Linked DNA regions of Homo sapiens: region 2 is linked to region 1. The links are contacts of gene promoters, found by promoter capture Hi-C in human tissues and cell types (Jung and others, 2019). All regions are on one chromosome and are shown on one strand. Each heading gives the region's core, a stretch centred on a gene start or on the middle of the fragment in contact. The rest is flanking DNA. Distances are from core to core; before and after follow the strand shown. Region 1 holds the start of TRA2A (transformer 2 alpha homolog). Region 2 overlaps LOC107986777 (a long non-coding RNA gene).

Evidence for each region. Contacts are between HindIII fragments. The study calls those that stand out against the background at their distance.
Region 2: a fragment that was not itself captured here is called in contact with the fragment with the promoter of TRA2A in region 1 in 1 of the 25 tissues and cell types used here (mesenchymal stem cells).

What each region holds. Positions count from the first base shown.
Region 1 is chr7:23,530,332-23,534,319 of GRCh38, reverse strand. It overlaps TRA2A (transformer 2 alpha homolog), which reads left to right and starts at 2,339. Exons shown (of 8, transcript NM_013293.5): 1 at 2,339-2,531. The coding sequence starts at 2,496. RefSeq lists enhancers at 1,101-1,600, 1,960-2,079, 1,601-2,102, 2,250-2,469, 2,480-2,529 and 3 more. The HindIII fragment of the contact is 6,699 bases long and covers 1-3,988 here.
Region 2 is chr7:24,371,447-24,376,054 of GRCh38, reverse strand. The region is part of intron 1 of LOC107986777 (a long non-coding RNA gene); the gene reads left to right. Among named protein-coding and RNA genes, the nearest start is that of NPY, 90 kb to the right of the region's middle. The HindIII fragment of the contact is 8,312 bases long and covers 1-4,608 here.

The DNA.
Region 1 (3,988 bases), core at 1,090-3,589:
CCCAGCTATGTGAGAGGGTGTGGTGGGAGGATCGTTGGAGCCATGATTGTGCCACTGCACTCCAGCCTGGGTGACAGAGTCAGATTATGTCTCCAAAAAATAAATAAAAGGAAAAAAGGGTAGGGGGGAAGACTCTTAGTCCATAATAGTCTACCTTTCTCCCATCCTTGATTGTGAATTTAATCTGTTGGGGAATGTGGTTATTTGTCCTGTGGAAGTTGATTACTTCATCTCGGTGTTTTTATTTTTCCCTTTCTTGTATTTCCTGTAAACTGTTGGCTAGATCTAAGGTTTAATTAGATTTGAGTTCAATTTGAGGGATCAGGAATACTTCACAGGAGGAACTGGGTATTTTCTATTGCATCACATCATGAGGTATCTCGTATCTGGTTATCTCACTTTTAATGGTACTAAGATTGATCAGTGGTTCAAATGGTATCAACCTGGCTGGGCGTGGCAGCTCACGTCTGTAATCCCAGCACTTTGGGAGGCTGAGGCGGGCAGATCATCTGAAGTCACAAGTTCCAGCCCACGCTGGCCAACATGGTGAAACCCCATCTCTACGAAAAATACAAAAATTAGCCGGGTGTGGTGGCACGCACTGTAATCCCAGCTACTCGGGAAGCTGAGCCAGGAGAATCACTTGAACCCGGAGGTGGAGGTTGCAGTGAGCCGAGATCGCGCCACTGCACTCCAGCCTGGGTGACAGAGCAAGTCTCCGTCTCAATAATAATAATAATAATTTCTTTTGTAGAGATGGGGGCTCACCATGTTGACCAGGCTGGTTTCGAACTTCTGGCCTCAAGCGATCTTCCGCCTAGGGTCTCCAAAGTACTGGGATTACAGGCGTCAGCCACCACACCCAGCCAAGTTCAACATCTTTTCTAAGAGCCAGATGTCATTTAAGTTTATCCCTATCAATAACTGACATTCAAATGCTGAAATCTTGCCCCCAGTGGTAGCAATCTTCATAATAATGCCAGATGAACTTTCCTACCATAGAACTATAGTTGAAAGTCTATGTCAATCTTTTTACTACAAAGCACTGTAGGAAAAAAATTTAAGATGAAACTAATTTTTAAAGTTGCATTACACAAGTAAAACTCATCTCAGAGATTATTACTATGATTGGGAACCAAGTTGACAGATTTGGGAGGTCTTCACTGTGAAGCTTTATGGAAATATCTAAGTCAAAAAAACTAGTAGGGAGCTAAGCATTATAAAAAAAAAACTACACGGCTGTCTCTAGGAGGGGGAACTGGAGCAGGGACACGAGGCAAGGAGCAGCGGCTTTGCATCATAACCTCATCTGTGCATGTACTACGTCGACATTACACAGGGCAAATATGGAAGAAAAGTAATACAGTCAGCTGACAACGTGCCCCCCAAAAGCCTGTTATATATACACGATTCCAGCCGGGCGCGGTGGCTCAGGCCTGTAATCTCAGCACTTTGGGAGGCCGAGGCGAGCAGATCGCTTGAGTCCACAAATTCGAGACCAGCCTGGGCAGCATGTCAAAACCCCATCTCTGCAAAACACACAAAAATTAGCCGGGTGGGCCGGGTACGGTGGTTCACCCTTGCAATCTCAGCACTTTGAGAGGCCCAGGCGGGCAAATCACCTGAGGTCAGGAGTTTGAGACCAGCCTGTCCAACATGGTGAAACCCCCGTCTCTGCTAAAAATACAAAAATTAGCCGGGCGTGGTGGTGCATGCCTGTAATCCCAGCTACTGGGGAGGCTGAGGCAGGAGAATTGCTTGAACCTGCGAGGTGGAGGTTGCAATGAACCTAGATAGCGCCACTGCACTTCAGCCTGGGCAACAGAGTGAGACTCCGTCCCAAAAAAGAAAAAAATTAGCCGGGCGTGGTGGCGCGCGCGGGAGCCTGAGGTGGGAGGATCGTCTGAGCCCGGGAGTTTGAGGCTGTGGTGAGCAGTGATCGCTTCACTGCACTTCAGCTTGGGTGACAGAGCGAGACCCTGACTCAAAAAATAAACAAACATAAAAAAACGCTTCCAATGTTTTGTTCCCTTACATCAGAATCCACTTGGACAATATTTAAAGGGGCTAAGGTCATATAAGGCTCATCTGGCGACTGAAAAGTCTTCAAAGAGGTTGACGCGTCCGAGGTGAGTCTGAAGTTTGGAGGACAGCACGGGACCGCGATTCCAAGGCGCCCAGGTTGAGAGCGCAGGCCGCCCGCCAACCTCCACCCTCGCTCCAGGCCCAGCCGACACAAAGCCTCGCGGGAGGTGGAGCCTCGTGACGTCACAGAGACGCCCGCCCCCTTTACGTCGTGCTCTGAGGAGGCCAGGAGATTTCTGGCGGCGCCGGCGCCATTTTGCTGGAGCCTGCGACCGAGTGGGAGTGGAGTGGAGCGGCTGTGGTTGCCGACTCTTTCCTCTTCCCCACGGTCCAGTCAGCGGGTTAATTAGGCCATCGGCCCTCGAGCCGAGACTTGTCTCTTATTTAGTTCTGGGGAGCGCCTCGTCGACATGAGTGATGTGGAGGAAAACAACTTCGAGGGCAGAGTGAGTACAAAGCCGCGGGAGCCGTCTAGGCGGCGGCCCAATGCTCGGGGTTTCACGGGAACAAGCGCGGTCGGGCGGGGTTGCGGGTAGTCCCGCGAGGAGCAACCTCTGGAGCCATCGCGATTGATTCCTCCCATCCCAAGATGGCTTCTGGGTTCCACTCCTTCCCCAAACACCACGGATAACACCCCTCCCCCTTTTTTGGAGGCTGACTGATACCTGGACTTCTGGGTCCTCTTCCCTCCCCGCCCCCGCATTGCTTCCTCCCTTCTCCCCACCCCTGAGGCTTCCTTATGTCTGCTCCGAGGTGTGGGTCCCCGTCGCGGTTGGGCGGGAGGAGGCGGCAGGGAGCTCCCCTCCGTCCGGATAGTGGTAGGTGCTTCCTGCGGTGGCATTTCTGGCGACCCCGAGCATCGTAGAGGGTCTCGGGATCGAAAGTGCGCGGGGCTGCTTTCCGGGCGGGGAGAAGCTGGCGTGGGACTAGCTGGGGCCTGTGTCTCCTTGGCTCTCTATTTCAGTGAGCGGCCGCGTCTCTGTTGGAACCGGCGGCGTTGCGTCTAAAAAGGCGAAAGCCTTGAGGTTGAAGGTGGGACGAGCCTAATGAAGTGGTTAGTCAACGACCGCACCGACCCTTAAGCGTTCTTAAGACGAGAGCTGTGAGGGGAAACTACGCAAGGAGCCCTTTTCCCTTAATGTCCCTTCGACTTTCCTTTCACTTCGAAATGAATGTGGAAATGCTGTCACGCCTTATTTTTCTAATTCCTCGATGTTGGGTTTTTTCTCTTCTTTATATCTCAACTTTTAATGCTCTTCTTCCTATGACCTTTCATCTAAAAACTGACCACTCCTTTACAGGTTTTTACGGTAAAAAAAAAAAAATCTGTCTTTCTTTAATCTTACATAGCTGAACGAATTCATTGGCTCAGTATTTTTAAGATAACTAGTCAGTATATACTGTTCTGTAACTTAAAAGATGACCTGAAAATTAACAGGCCCTCTCCCATTTCTCTTCTCACTCTATCCCCCACCGAAGAGGGCTCAGAAAAAAGTTTTTATTAATATATTTGGGGTCGGAGAAATACAAACATCACAAAGAATACGATATCCCCAGCTTAAATGTACTGGAACGTTTGTCAGTGAGTTTCATTTCCAAAGTTTACCCTACATAGGGAATTGTAGAAGTGAGTTAGTAGAAGTGAGTTCGTGTGAAACCCTGGAAAGAAAACAAAAGCCCCATGCAACACGTTCCGGGCTGTTGTGTAGATGTTTATTCTAGTCACTAGGGGAAGCACATAAAAACACCTGAGGTGTGTGTGCTGAAGGGCGAATTTTGTCCTTTTGGGGAGTTCATGATATAAACATCTAGAACCAAAAAGTCAAATCAGAAGGTCAGTTTAGGCTTTAGTTCTCTTTGAGGAAAGATTTAAAGCAATAGACTATAATAGTTACCCGGTAGA
Region 2 (4,608 bases), core at 1,577-4,076, 840 kb before region 1:
ATTGGGCATGGAGTGTTTGTTTGGAGGGGTTAATGTCAATTTCTTCAATTCAACACTGCCATGATTGCTGGGTCATGCCAGAGGACTTTGTATTTGCTTTCCCAATTTCTATCCCAATCAGCTGTGACACTGCAGACAATTTCTTTTGTGATCTGCAGAGCTCTAAGGTCAAGGGAACGGGGGCCTGGATCAACCCATCACAATACATGGACTTCTAAAGGTGCTTTTATGTATTGATCTGAAATGTCTCTGTGATTTCCAAGCACATGTGCTTTAGTGGACTGTATTTATGTTACCGTGATCACTGATTGCTCTCATAATCACTGGAAGGGAGGTTGCTATTCCCATCTTTGATTTACAAGTGAGAATGCTGTGTTCACAGTGTTTTAAATATAGGTTTAATTTTTCGGGTATGTTACGGCCAACAGATCAGAAGACAACCACTATTGAGAAGATAATTGTTACAGTTCCCAAAAGGAGGCACGCTGCACCACACAGGGTCCCATGGGGAAGCACCAGGGTGGATCAGGAGGCAGAGGGGGTTAGGGGAAGACTTGGGCAACAGGCTTTATCATGATTTCCCTGGAAAAGGAATGGGTGAGGCAGGGTAAGCAGGCTGAGGATTGACCATTTCAGCATTTCAGCAGGCTCTGGGTCACACAGGTTGTCCCCAGCCATCTGGTACCTGACCCTGGGTGATGAGAGCAGGTGGATGATGGCCCAGAAGGCGAGAGCCTGATAAAGCAGGTGGTTGGGGTGTGAGCTCTGGAATGTTTTGTTTGCATATCAAAAGTGTGCTTGCAGATAAGTTCTTTATTATCTCTAGAAATTGGCTGTCTCCGGGAAGGGCAGTTTCTCCAGGGTCAGCAAGGCCCCAGGTGTCAAAGCATCAGAAACACATTGTTAATAAACAGAGGAATGAGGTGCTGTGCATTAGGACTCAGGGCTAGTCTGGGGCAGAACTGTACTTAGAAAGAAAAATATACAGGTTTCTGGAACCTAACCACAGCATCATAGTTTCAAGCTGAAGAAGAGACCTCCAAATCATCCTACCTTCTTATATGAATGAGGAAATTGGAGCTCAGAGAGGCCATGAGGCCTGCCCAAGGTCACCAAGCATCATGACTTCTTTCTCCTCTGTCCAGTCCCTTTCTACACCATCCTGATTTGCCCACTACTTTCCAATGTTATGACCCTGGTCCTGTCTCTCCCACATCCCTCCAATTACAGGCACACGGGGGAGGATTTCTCTTTTTTATCCAGTTTCCTAGACGTGAGCAGTGATTATGTAATTGGCCCATTTTGGTTTGGGGCAGCGTCAGAGCAAAAGAAAGTGGTTTATTGGAAGAGGTCTGCATCAAACCAAGCTCTGCTTGAAAGAAAGGAGCTCTCTATTCTATTCATAAACAGACAATCCTTCTGATGAGAGAGTCTCAGTGTTCCCTTTTTGATCAATTTACCCTCAAGACCTTACATCTTTTTCATAATATGGCCTCAGGTCTGATATATTTCCTTTGGTTCTGTTACAGTAACCAGCCCCCAGTGTCTAGACATTTCTTTTTCTACGAAGGTAGGAGGGTATATTGATTTTTGCAGTTTGTAAGTTTAGTTTTCAACAGAGTTTCAGATCTGCAGTATGAACAACTTTCTCCAGTTTGAGTTGTATGGTCAGCGAGCAACTTTCTCAGTGATCCTCGACCTTGGATGCACATTAGAATTATCTAGGGACCCTTTAAAAATCCAATGCCAGGCCGGGCATGCTGGCTCATGCCTGTAATCCCAGCACTTTGGGAGGCCGTGACAGGTGGATCACCTGAGGTCAGGAGTTTGAGACCAGCCTGACCGAAAAGGTGAAACCCTGTCTCTACTAAAAATACAAAAATTAGCCGGGTGTGGTGGCAGGCTCCTGTAGTCCCAGCTGCTCAGGAGGCTGAGGCAGGAGAATTGCTTGAATCTGGGAGGCAGAAGTTGCAGTGAGCCGAGCTGAGATCGCGCCACTGCACTACAGGCCTGGGTGATAGAGCAAGACTCTGAAAAAAAAAAAAAAATCCAACGTCAGATCCCCCTCCTCGGACATTCATACTTGATTGATCTAGGGTGGGACCCAAGAAATGGGATATTTTTGCTTCTCCGGAGTGATCCTACCGTGGAACCGGAAATACAAATCACTGAGCTAGAGGGAAACTGGCCAGCAGTGACAGGAAGGTGATGCCCTGGATTCATCTGAGAGTATCCATAGGCCTGAGATACAGAAACCACTGGCCAGATGGTCTTCTCATTTCACACAGGACCCACCTGTTCCTGCCCCTCCGTCTGAACACAAAACCTGATGACACCACACTCCGCCTGAAAATCCTTCAATGCTTCTCTACTAACTGAAAATAAAGTAAAAAAATCTGCGGTGTTGGCGTTGTGGTTACTATTACTAGGTAACAAACCACTCCCAAATGTCAGCCATTTTATCATGCTCATGGATTCTGTGAGTCGGGATGCAGACAGGACACAATGAGGACGGCTTGCCTGTGCTCCACAGAGTCTGGAGTCTCTGCTGGAAACTCCCAAGCTGGGGGCGGCTTAATAGCTGGGAGCTGGAATGATCTGGAAGTGTCATCACTCACATCTGGAGTTGATGCTGGCTGTCGGCTGGGATCTCAGCTGGGGCTGTTGACCTGAGCACCCACCTGCGACCTCTCCTTGTAGCCTGGTGGCCTGAGTACCAGCACGGTGGCCTCAGGCCAGCTGGACTTCTCAGCTGGCGGTTCAGTGTTCCAAGAGTCAGAAAAGTGCTTCGTTTGACCTAGCTTCAGCAGTCACATAGCATCGCTTCCTTCTGCTGCATTTGTAAAGCAGTCATAAACCTGCTCAGATTCAAGTGGAGGGGATGTAACCCCGCCTCTAGATGGGGGAGGGTGGCAAGCTCCCATTGTAGAAGAGCATGTGGGATGGGAGATATTACTGGAGACATCTTTAGGATTTTGCTCAGCTGTAATGGCTGCATCTCATTGTCTTATTCTTCACTCCAGTCCAGCTAAAGTGTTTATAGTTCCCAGAAGACACAATTCTCTTCCATACTGCCTTTGCTTCATGTTTTTCCTTTTCTCTAGAATGTCTCTCCTGCTCAAATCCCCCTTCCTAATTCAGCTGCCTTGTAGGGCTCGGCTGGAGCAACACCTTCTCAGGGAAGGTGTTCATGGGGTGCTGGGTGCTCCTCGGTGCAGCTGTGCCTCTCTGTGTGTCTCTCAGATGGGCCTTCATCCCACTGCAGGCTGTTGGGGGATTCAGGTCTCCCTCTCCCTCACTATTCTGTAAGTTTCTTCAGGATAGAAGCTGTTTTCTTTTAATGTTCCCAACACTTAGCAGTGTTTGGCCTAAAGTGGGTGTTCAAAAAATAGTAATAAATGTAGTTCTATTATGGTCAGCACACACCTTTTAAAACTAAGATTTAAAAATTAGACTTGCCTCCTAGGCTTGCAACACTTCCGCAATATTGAAGAGCTTAGGGAATCCCATGGGAACAGGGACTCACCAGTTTCTCCTGCTTTGCACTTGTCCCTCAGCCCTAAGTGGCCATTTACATCCCTTTTGGTTTCTCATTCCCATTACAAAAAGGCCTCCCTTGAGTATTAACAATAAATTTGTTAATGTTGCCGAAGTGCTTAGAAGATGGAAAGAGCTGTATGTAAGCTAAATATTATTATTAATAATGGTATGAGATTGATTATTCATTTCCACAGAACTTCTCCTATTTGGTCTGCGCAAAAGTGGAAATTGGTTGTGTTAAATTGGCTTACCTGCTCCATTTGGCGCTGTCAGGAAAATCAGTGAGACACACATGAATATTCTTCCATGTACATAGCCATTTTCAAAGTTAGACGATCATCAATATTTATTGTAAGCAGTTATGGAAAAAAATGGATGAATATTTAACACATGGGGGCATTTAGGTATTATTAAATGTGCCTGGCCAAGCAAATTTTGAAGCTATATTTGGGCTTTAACTTACAACAGAAAATCCATATTATTAATTAGATACATGGTCATGTTTGAAAGGCTGTCGCTAGAATGGTCTTGGAATCTGAAGGCAGAGAACAACTTCTGAATGGCAAAAGCTACTCTATGCCCTTATGCCTAGCAAGGAGTTCCAGACAATTGCAGGATGGTGCCTTTAGACATTTCCTGGTCTTACTGATGAGACAACATCCTAATGTCAGATACGAGAAATTCCCAATTTAGAGACACATGTGCTTCATAGGCCCTGGATTCCCATATCACAACTGATAGCGAACTTTGCAAGAAGGGACATTGCTCACTGAAAGGTTTGAAGGAATAGGCTCTGATTCCAGAAGTATCAGAAAGATGATGGAGCAGGGGCTGTGGGAAGAGCATGGGAGTATTAACAGGAAGTAAGAAAAATGTGGGTTCTAATCCAGTGTCAGCTGTGTGGCCTTGGGAAATGACTTTTTAAAATGACTTTTTCTCTATCGACCTTGGTTTTCCTCATAAGTAAAATGAACTATGAGATCTTTAAAGTCCTTTCTGGAGCTAACTCTCCATAACTTTATAGATGTTGTATTGAACTCAGTGTATGAAGCACCCACATTTGTTTTG